Linked DNA regions of Homo sapiens: all the other regions are linked to region 1. Evidence: promoter capture Hi-C in human tissues and cell types (Jung and others, 2019). All regions are on one chromosome and are shown on one strand. The core of a region is centred on a gene start or on the middle of the fragment in contact, and the rest is flanking DNA. Distances in the headings are between cores, read along the strand shown. Region 1 holds the start of KRTAP10-5 (keratin associated protein 10-5). Region 2 has its middle 17 kb from the start of TSPEAR. Region 3 overlaps UBE2G2 (ubiquitin conjugating enzyme E2 G2).

Evidence for each region. Contacts are between HindIII fragments. The study calls those that stand out against the background at their distance.
Region 2: a fragment that was not itself captured here is called in contact with the fragment with the promoter of KRTAP10-5 in region 1 in 2 of the 25 tissues and cell types used here (IMR-90 fibroblasts and lymphoblastoid cells).
Region 3: a contact is called between a fragment that was not itself captured here and the fragment with the promoter of KRTAP10-5 in region 1, in 3 of the 25 tissues and cell types used here (heart left ventricle, mesendoderm cells and thymus).

The regions. Positions count from the first base shown.
Region 1 is chr21:44,579,191-44,581,890 of GRCh38, forward strand. It overlaps KRTAP10-5 (keratin associated protein 10-5), which reads right to left and starts at 1,414. Exons shown (of 1, transcript NM_198694.3): 1 at 265-1,414. The coding sequence starts at 1,388. The coding sequence ends at 573. The region is part of intron 1 of TSPEAR (thrombospondin type laminin G domain and EAR repeats); the gene reads right to left. RefSeq lists enhancers at 558-1,148, 1,149-1,738. The HindIII fragment of the contact is 3,934 bases long and covers 1-2,700 here.
Region 2 is chr21:44,727,704-44,730,403 of GRCh38, forward strand. No RefSeq gene overlaps it. Among named protein-coding and RNA genes, the nearest start is that of TSPEAR, 17 kb to the left of the region's middle. RefSeq lists an enhancer at 2,650-2,700. The HindIII fragment of the contact is 7,356 bases long and covers 1-2,700 here.
Region 3 is chr21:44,788,315-44,791,014 of GRCh38, forward strand. All of the region lies in intron 1 of UBE2G2 (ubiquitin conjugating enzyme E2 G2), which reads right to left. Among named protein-coding and RNA genes, the nearest start is that of UBE2G2, 12 kb to the right of the region's middle. RefSeq lists a silencer at 78-302. The HindIII fragment of the contact is 3,302 bases long and covers 1-2,700 here.

The sequences.
Region 1 (2,700 bases), core at 164-2,663:
GACAGTCCTGGGGCCTGGAGAGCCCCACAGCCCAGGGCACGGCAGCCAATGACCAGGCTCAGGAAGACCCAGGCATGGAGGCTGAGCCGGGACTGAGCCTTCCTGGGCGTGGCTGTGAGTTCCACCTGGTGACCCCCTGGAGGAGTTAGGCCACTGTCCCCCGTGACTTCTAGGTTAAGTCACTCATTCATAGAAACAGTCATGGCTAGAGACCAATCTGAGCTCAAAACCATGTATCCCCAGGAGCACTACAGAAAAAGAGAATCAGGCGACCAAGGGGAGTTTATTGGGGAGCAGGAGGAGGTGCTGACAGGTTCAAGTCGAGGCCAAGTGACATGGGGCAGAGAAGCTGGGAGGGAGGACAGGGGACCCAACAGGCAGGTGGGCCCCTGCTGGGAGGCAGGAGCTGGGGAGCTTCGAGGATGGAGATTCCTGGGAGTATGGAGGGGGGGGTCACCTCAGCACATGGGGGCCCCGTCCCAAGCGGGGGCAACCTCCTAACCCGAGTCAGGACCAGTTGGCCCTGGGGGATGTGCACATCAGCAACTGGACTCCTGGCCTGAGCAGAGGCCTCAGCAGGCCAGGGGGGAGCACGCGGGGCGGCAGAGGAGGGACACGCAGGAGGCCGGGCGGCAGCAGCTGGCCTGGTAGGAGGAGGCAGGGGCACAGCAGGAGGAGATGGGCAGGCAGCAGGCGGGCCTGCATATGGGGCGGCAGAGGAGGGACACGGAGGAGGAGGGTCTGCAGCAGGAGGTGGTGCAGCAAGCCGGCTGACAGCTAGACTGCTGGCAGCATGAAGTGGAAGCCCCAGAGCAGACGGGCACACAGCAGATGGGTTTGCAGCAGACAGGCTTGCAACAGACAGGCACGTAGCAGGACTGCTGGCAGGGGGAGGAGGTGCAGCAAGTCGGCTGGCAGCTAGAATGCTGGCAGCATGAAGAGGAATCCTCAGAACAGGTGGGCACACAGCACACGGGCTTGCAGCAGACAGGCACACAGCAGGACTGCTGGCAGGAGGAAGAGGCACAGCAAGTTGGCTGGCAGCTAGACTGCTGGCAGCATGAAGAGGAATCCTTAGAGCAGGTGGGCAGGCAGCACACAGGCTTGCAGCAGACGGGCACGCAGCAGGCCTGCTGGCAGGGGGAGGAGGCGCAGCAAGCCGGCTGGCAGCACGAGGGCGTGCAGGAGCTGGTGCAGCCTGATTGGCAGGGGCTGGGCTCACAGGCCGCCTGGCAGCAGGGGCTGGACACACAGCTCACTGGGGTGCAGACCAGGGTCAGGCAGGGGGCGGTGCCGCAGGGGGGCTCACAGCAGCTCTCTGGGCAGTCGTCCACTCGCCAGGAGTCAGAGCAAGCGCTGGAGCAGACGGACATGGTGCACGCGGCCATGCTGGGGTGGGGAAGACGTGAGCTGGGAGCTGGGGGAGGTGTGAGTGAGTGAGTGTGTGAGTGAGTGAAGGAGGGAGTGAGTGAGTGAGGTGCTCAGGGCTGTGGGGCTTTTAAATCCCTCCCTGGCGTGTGTTGTCCCGACAGGAGGCTCCACAAGCTTCTCTTCCTTGTTGGTGTTTAGAGCTGGTGGCTGGAGATGCGTCATTCATGCTGGTTTATCTGTTTGTTTTTCCCTCATTAAACTTGTGTGTATGTTGCAGGGCCGTGTTTCTTCATCGGTTCTTATTTTAGCCCCAGAAATGTGGTGGAAAATATTTCAAGCAAACTTTTGTTGAGTAGAGGTTTTAGAGATGAAGACTTCTCTAAAGGGAGGAATTCTAGTTTCACCTATCCTGTGTTTGGACTGATTGGATATATTTTATTACTTTTAGCATATTAAAATATAAATAGGTAGAAAAATATGCATTTCTTATAAAATGCAGCTGGCACAGAGGGTACGATGAAGCTAAGTGGCCCTCTCTTCAACCCCTTGTGCCTCGTAAGGGGAATGCTCAGAGATTTGGTATCTGGTGGATCTGTGCTTTATCCTTGTCTCTTCAGCTCTTCCATGCCACCCTCAGAGCCCTCTCTCTGTTTTATTTGAAGCTGCGCTCTGGGTTTTCTCCATTTTTATTTCCTCATGGTGACAGATCAAGTACTTTTTCACATATGGTGATTTTAGGACATACATTTTAAGATTTCTTTCTTGCCTAAAAATGTACTCAACTTTACCCTCACACTTATATGATAGTTTAGCTGGGTATATAATTCTGGTTTTAAGTCAGAATTATTATTATAAATAATAACAAAAAATCTGTTTTCTCAAAATGATGAACCTGTGTCACCATTTTTCTGTAGTGTCCAGCGTTGCTGATGAGAGACTGAGGTTGGTCATTTGTCATTTTTTATAGTTTGTCTCTCTCTCTCCGTTTAACTCTCTGGGAACATTTGGTTTTCTTTTTATTCTTCTTTTGTTTCTATGCGTGTGCATTATTTTACTTTCTGTGGTTAGAATTCATTGAGCCTTTCAATGTGGAGACTCAGGAAGTGTTTTGCGCTCTTAAAAATAACTCATCTCTCAAGGTCTTTCCTTTTGTGACTTTAATTTTGTCTCACGATGAATGAAATACATTTTTGGCTCACTGTAATGATGTTATGTTGAGCATTTAAACGTTTTTCCCCTCGTTTCACTGGACATCAGTTAAGCTCTGCTCATTGGTGGCAGTTCATTTGATTTTCTGAGTAAAAGACTATTTTATTCCAGGGCATTGGG
Region 2 (2,700 bases), core at 162-2,661, 150 kb after region 1:
AGAGCTCAGAGGACGGCTGAGGCCTCTGGTCAGAAGACCCCAGGCTTCCCCGAAGGAAGGGACACCTCACGAGGACAGCCTGTCACCACAGTCCTAATGGACTTCCAGGGACCACAGTGCCAGCGCTTTCCATCAGAATGGCTGACAGTATTAGAGATCATACATCATTCATTTGCCTCACGAACCCCGAGGGAGTGCTTGCTCCAGAGAGACCCCTGGGCTCCCAGGGCCTGGCACTGGTGACAGTGGCATGGGAGGGGCACATGAGCCGGGTGGCACAGCAAGGCAGCACCGTGACCCTAGGGGTGCTGTGGGCGGAGAAGATGGGGGCAGTCCTGGGCTGCTGAGCTTCTCTGAGGGGTCATCGTCCTTCAGGCAAGTGGCAGGAAGTGGCCCACAGGCTTCCAAGCTGCGGGAGCAGAGTGAACAAGCAGCAGGAAGAGCTGAGAGTCCTGGGAACAGTGGAGCCTGCATGGAGGGGACAGGAAAGGGGATGGAGTCCGGGGCAGCAGTGAGAGACCCAGAGGACGAGAGACCTGGAGACACCTGCAGCCCTGGGAGACGCCCTGGCAGCCAGGGCTCAGGAAAAACCATCCTCAGAGAAGACACACGAGGTCATTATTCAGAACAAGAGTAGGTAGATAAAAGCATATCCTTTGGGAGGCTAAGGCGGGCAGATCACCTGAGGTCAGGAGTTCGAGACCAGCCTGACCAACATGGAGAAACCCCATCTCTACTAAAAATACAAAATTAGCTGGGCGTGATGGCGCATGCCTGTAATCCCAGCTACTCGGGAGGCTGAGGCAGGAGAATCATTTGAACCCCGGAGGCAGAGGTTGTGTTGAGCCGAGATCGCGCCATTGCACTCCAGCCTGGGCAACAAGAGCAAAACTCCATCTCAAAAAAAAAAAAAAAAAAAAAAAAAAAGTATATCTTGGCATTAGTGCTATTCTCAGCATCAGAAGTCAAAATGGCAACTCATTAAGCATCACCACCAGCGATGTTTGTGGTGGGAGAGTGGAGACCATAGACCCCCAGCATTGATAATGTTGGTCCAAGTAAAATGCAAGAACTTCAAATGCAAGGGTCAAAGTGTCCCTTGAATAACCGCATTTTTCTCGGGTAGAATTCCAAATTACAGCGAGTTCATAGCACTGGTCCTGCCCCGCCACGATGACCCACTTGGTGTTGATGGACGAGAACGCGCTTGTGTCTTACTCGTGCAGTTTGCTAAACTAACAACCAAAAGGCCATCGCGCCCTTACAGTTTTATTCCCCGCTGACAGATTTGAGGGGAGCTGTCAGGTGGGAGGCTTCTGAGAGCATTCTAGCCTATTACACCCAGCAAATAGATTACATCACTTAGACATACGTTTGCTTTTAAAAATAACTTTATTTTTCCTACGACACAAGTAATAATAGGTTCCTTGTTGAAACCTCATCACATATGGATGACAAAAAGTAGGAATGAAAACTGATCACAATTTCACTGTCAGAGATAGACACTGAGCATCTCGGCACCGTGCAGCAAGAATGTATGTAGATACCCATGGTAGATAAAAAATATATGATATATGGGCATAAAACATGGACTGTCCCGTCGTCTTCTGTGAGCCGCCAGCACAGCTGATGATGTGGGTGGCACAGGCATTGAGTCACCACTGGGAGTGGCCGTCATCCCTCTCCTGAAGAGACGGGGGATAGGGGGCCTGTGGGGCACCTGGGGATCGTCCCCTCCTCCACATGGCCTGTGCAGCTGGTCAGAGTGAGCTCACCAGGAGCACCGGCTGCTCCCAGCCCTGGGCCCCCTTGAGTTCTCCACCAGCACCCCGCCCCTGCGAATATGCACAGATCAAGGGGACAGGGCCCCGCTGGGCCACAGGCTCAGGACAGGTGACCATCCAAGAGGGCCGGGAAGTGGAGGGTGCTGCACACTGGCCTGCTGGCCCAGTATCACCCGATCTCGTGTCTGCCTCTTGAGCGCTGATGGTGTGCGTCTGTGCCCCTCACAAAACAGCACTGCGGTAAGTCCAAGACACAAGCGGGCCAAAGACTCAAGGCAGTGCAGAAGGCGGCACGTGTTCCAGGGGAACACGGCACCCCTGACCATAGCAAGAGGCACAGGAAAGCGGCCTGCAGCAGGGAGGGGGCGGAGAGCCTGGTGTCTTCTGCATCCTAGGGAGCCAGGCTGCCTGTGCCCCAGTGGCTTCTCCATAACTTCTGGGTTCTGTGGATGTCCCCTGCAGCCGGGACTCCTGACCGAGGCAGCTCCGTCAGGGTCCAACTGATTCCCCGCACATTGGGCAAGAGGTGGTTCCTAATCACACATCAGCTTCTTGATGACCGTTAGTGGATTTTGGCTGCTGTAAGAAAATACCACTGACTGGGTGTTTCAACAACAAGCTGTGTTCCTCACAGTCTAGGGGCTGGAAGTTGGAGGCCAAGGTGGCAGCAGGGTCGGGTTCTGGCAAGGACACTCTTCCTGGTTTGCTCGCGGCTGTCTTCTTCTTGCACCCTCATGTGGCAGACAGAGCAAAAGTGACAGCATGCTCTCTGGGGTCTCCTTCATAAGAGGACCCCATCATGAGGGCCACAACCTAATCACCTCCCAAACGCCCTGCCTCCTAGCGCCACCACACCAGGGTTAGAATTTCTATATAGGAACTCTGGGGAGATGCAATCGGCCCATAACATTCTATT
Region 3 (2,700 bases), core at 127-2,626, 210 kb after region 1:
AGTCTCACTCTATCACCCAGGCTGAAGTGCAGTGGTGTGATCTCAGCTCACTGCAAGCTCCACCTCCCAGGTTCATGCCATTCACCTGCCTCAGCCTCCCAAGTAGCTGGGACTACAGGCGCCCACCACCACGCCCAGCTAATTTTTTGTATTTTTAGTAGAGACGGGGTTTCACCGTGTTAGCCAGGATGGTCTAGATCTCCTGACCTCGTGATCCGCCAGCCTCGGCCTCCCAAAGTGCTGGGATTACAGGCATGAGCCACCGCGCCGGCCCAAATAGTTCTTTATACCAACAAAACATAGACTTTTCTTTTTCTTTTTCTTTTTACAAATGCAAAAGCAAACATAAGGGGTACACTGTCTTTCCAAACTGTTCCTGCTGGTTACTTTGTTGCTTAGTTTTGAGACAGGGTCTCACTCTGGTTGCCCAGGCTGGAGTCCAGTGGGCAACCAGAGTGAGACTGGGGAAATTAATAAAACAGTAAGCAAACATACAGAAAAAAAAAAATCAATGAAACCAAAAGGTGGTTCTTTGAAGAGACAGAAAATTAATAAATCCTTGCCAAATAAATATAAGGTATAAGGACTGAAAAAGAAATAAAACTCATTATTCACAGATGCTATGTCCATATATACAGGAAAGCCCAAAAGAATCTAAAGATAATTAGTAAAAGTGAGTTTGGCACAGTTGCTGAATATGAGGCATATATATATCTTTCTAAAAGATATATAAAAATGCAAACAATCCAGAATAGCCAAGACACTATCTTTAAAAAGAATAAACAGAGGGCCAGGCGCGGTGGCTCACGCCTGTAATCCCAGCACTTTGGGAGGCCGAGGCGGGTGGATCACCTCAGGTCAGGAGTTCGAGACCAGCCTGGCCAACATGGCGAAATCCCATCTCTACCAAAAATAGAAAAATTAGCCGGGCATGGTGGCATGCACCTGTAGTCCCAGCTACTTGGGAGGCTGAGGCAGGAGGATCACTTGAACCCAGGAGGCGGAGGTTGCAGTGAGCCGAGATCGCGCCACTGCACTCCAGCCTGGGTGACAGAGCAAGACTCTGTCTCAAAAAAAAAAAAAAAAAAAAAGAATAAACAGAAAGCTTCATCTATGAGTTACCAAGCCTTCCTTACAGAGCTATGGAAATTAAGGCAACGTAGCACTGGCTCAAAGTTAAATTGAACAATGGGGCACAAGAGAAAGCCCAGAAGCATACCTGTACCAACAGAGACCCTGACTCGAGGGAACACAGAGCTATGGCCCAGAGGCAAAGGGCAGTCTTTTCCATGAATGATGCTCATCTCTAAGACAAAAAAAAATCAAACTTTCCCCATCTCACACCACATATAAAAATCAAAATAGGTAAGAAGAAAAATGGAGGCAGAGTTGAAAAGAGCCACTGTCAGAGTCAACACGAATGATGCTGTGGTCCAAACGCTTGCGTCCCCCCAAAATTCCTATGTTGAATCCTAATGTATGTGGTATTGGGAGGTGGGACCTTTGGGAGGAGATTAGGTCAGGAGGGCAGAACTCTCATGAATGGAGTTAGTGCCTTTATAAGAAGAAACGAGAGATTTGCCTCTGGCCATGTAAGGGCACAAGGAGAAGACAGTCATCTGCAAACCAGGAAGACAGCCCTCACCAGACTTCCCAGCCTCCAGAATTGGGAGCAATAAATGTTTGTTGTTTAAGCTCCCTGGTCTTTGGTATTTTTTTACAGCAGCCTGAACTGACTAAAACAGATGGCTAATAAGCACATGAGAAAATGCTCAACATTGTGAATCATAAGGGTAATGCAAATTAAAACCACAATAAGATACAGCTCAATAGCTTCAGCATTATCAGTATCTTTAGTCACAAAAGAATGGCCAAAATTAAAGACTTAAAGTGCTGGCAAGTTTAGCAAGTAGATCTCTCATGCACCACTGATGGGAATGCAAAATGGTTTGGTTACCCTTTGGGAAAGAAGTTTGACCATTTCCACTAAAATTACATATATATTGACTCTAAGACCCAGCAATTCTACTGGGTCTTATGTTGCCATAGACTTTTGTGTGAATGTTCATAGTAGCTAAATTCGTAATAGCCCCAAACTGGAAACAACCCAAATGTCCATTGATATGGTTTGGCTTTGTGTCCCCACACAAATTTCATCTTGAATTGTAATCTCCAGGTGTTGAGGGAGGAACCTAGTGGAAGGTGACTGGATCATGGGGGCAATTTCCTCCATGCTGTTCTCATGACAGTGAGTTCTCATGAGATCTGGTGGTTTTATAAGTGTTCGAAAGTTCCTCCTTCACTCTTCTTTCTTGCCACCTTGTGAAGAAGGTGCTTGCTTCCCCTTCGGCTTCTGTCATGATAAGTTTCCTGAGGCCTCCCTAGCCATGTGGAACTGTGAGTCAATTAAACCTCTTTCCTTTATAAATTATCCAGTCTCAGGGAAGTTCTTATAGGAGTGTGAAAACAGATGAATACAGTAAATTGGTACCAGGGGTACTGCTATAAAGATAACCTGAAAATGTGGAAGCAACTTCAGAACTGGGTAGTAGGCAGAGGTTGGAACAGTTTGAAGGGCTTAGAAGAAGGAAGATGTGGGAAAGTCTGGAACTTCCTAGAGACTTGCTGAATGCTTTTGACCAAAATGCTGATAGTGACATGGACAATGAAGCCCAGGCTGAGGTGGTCTGAAAAAGAGAA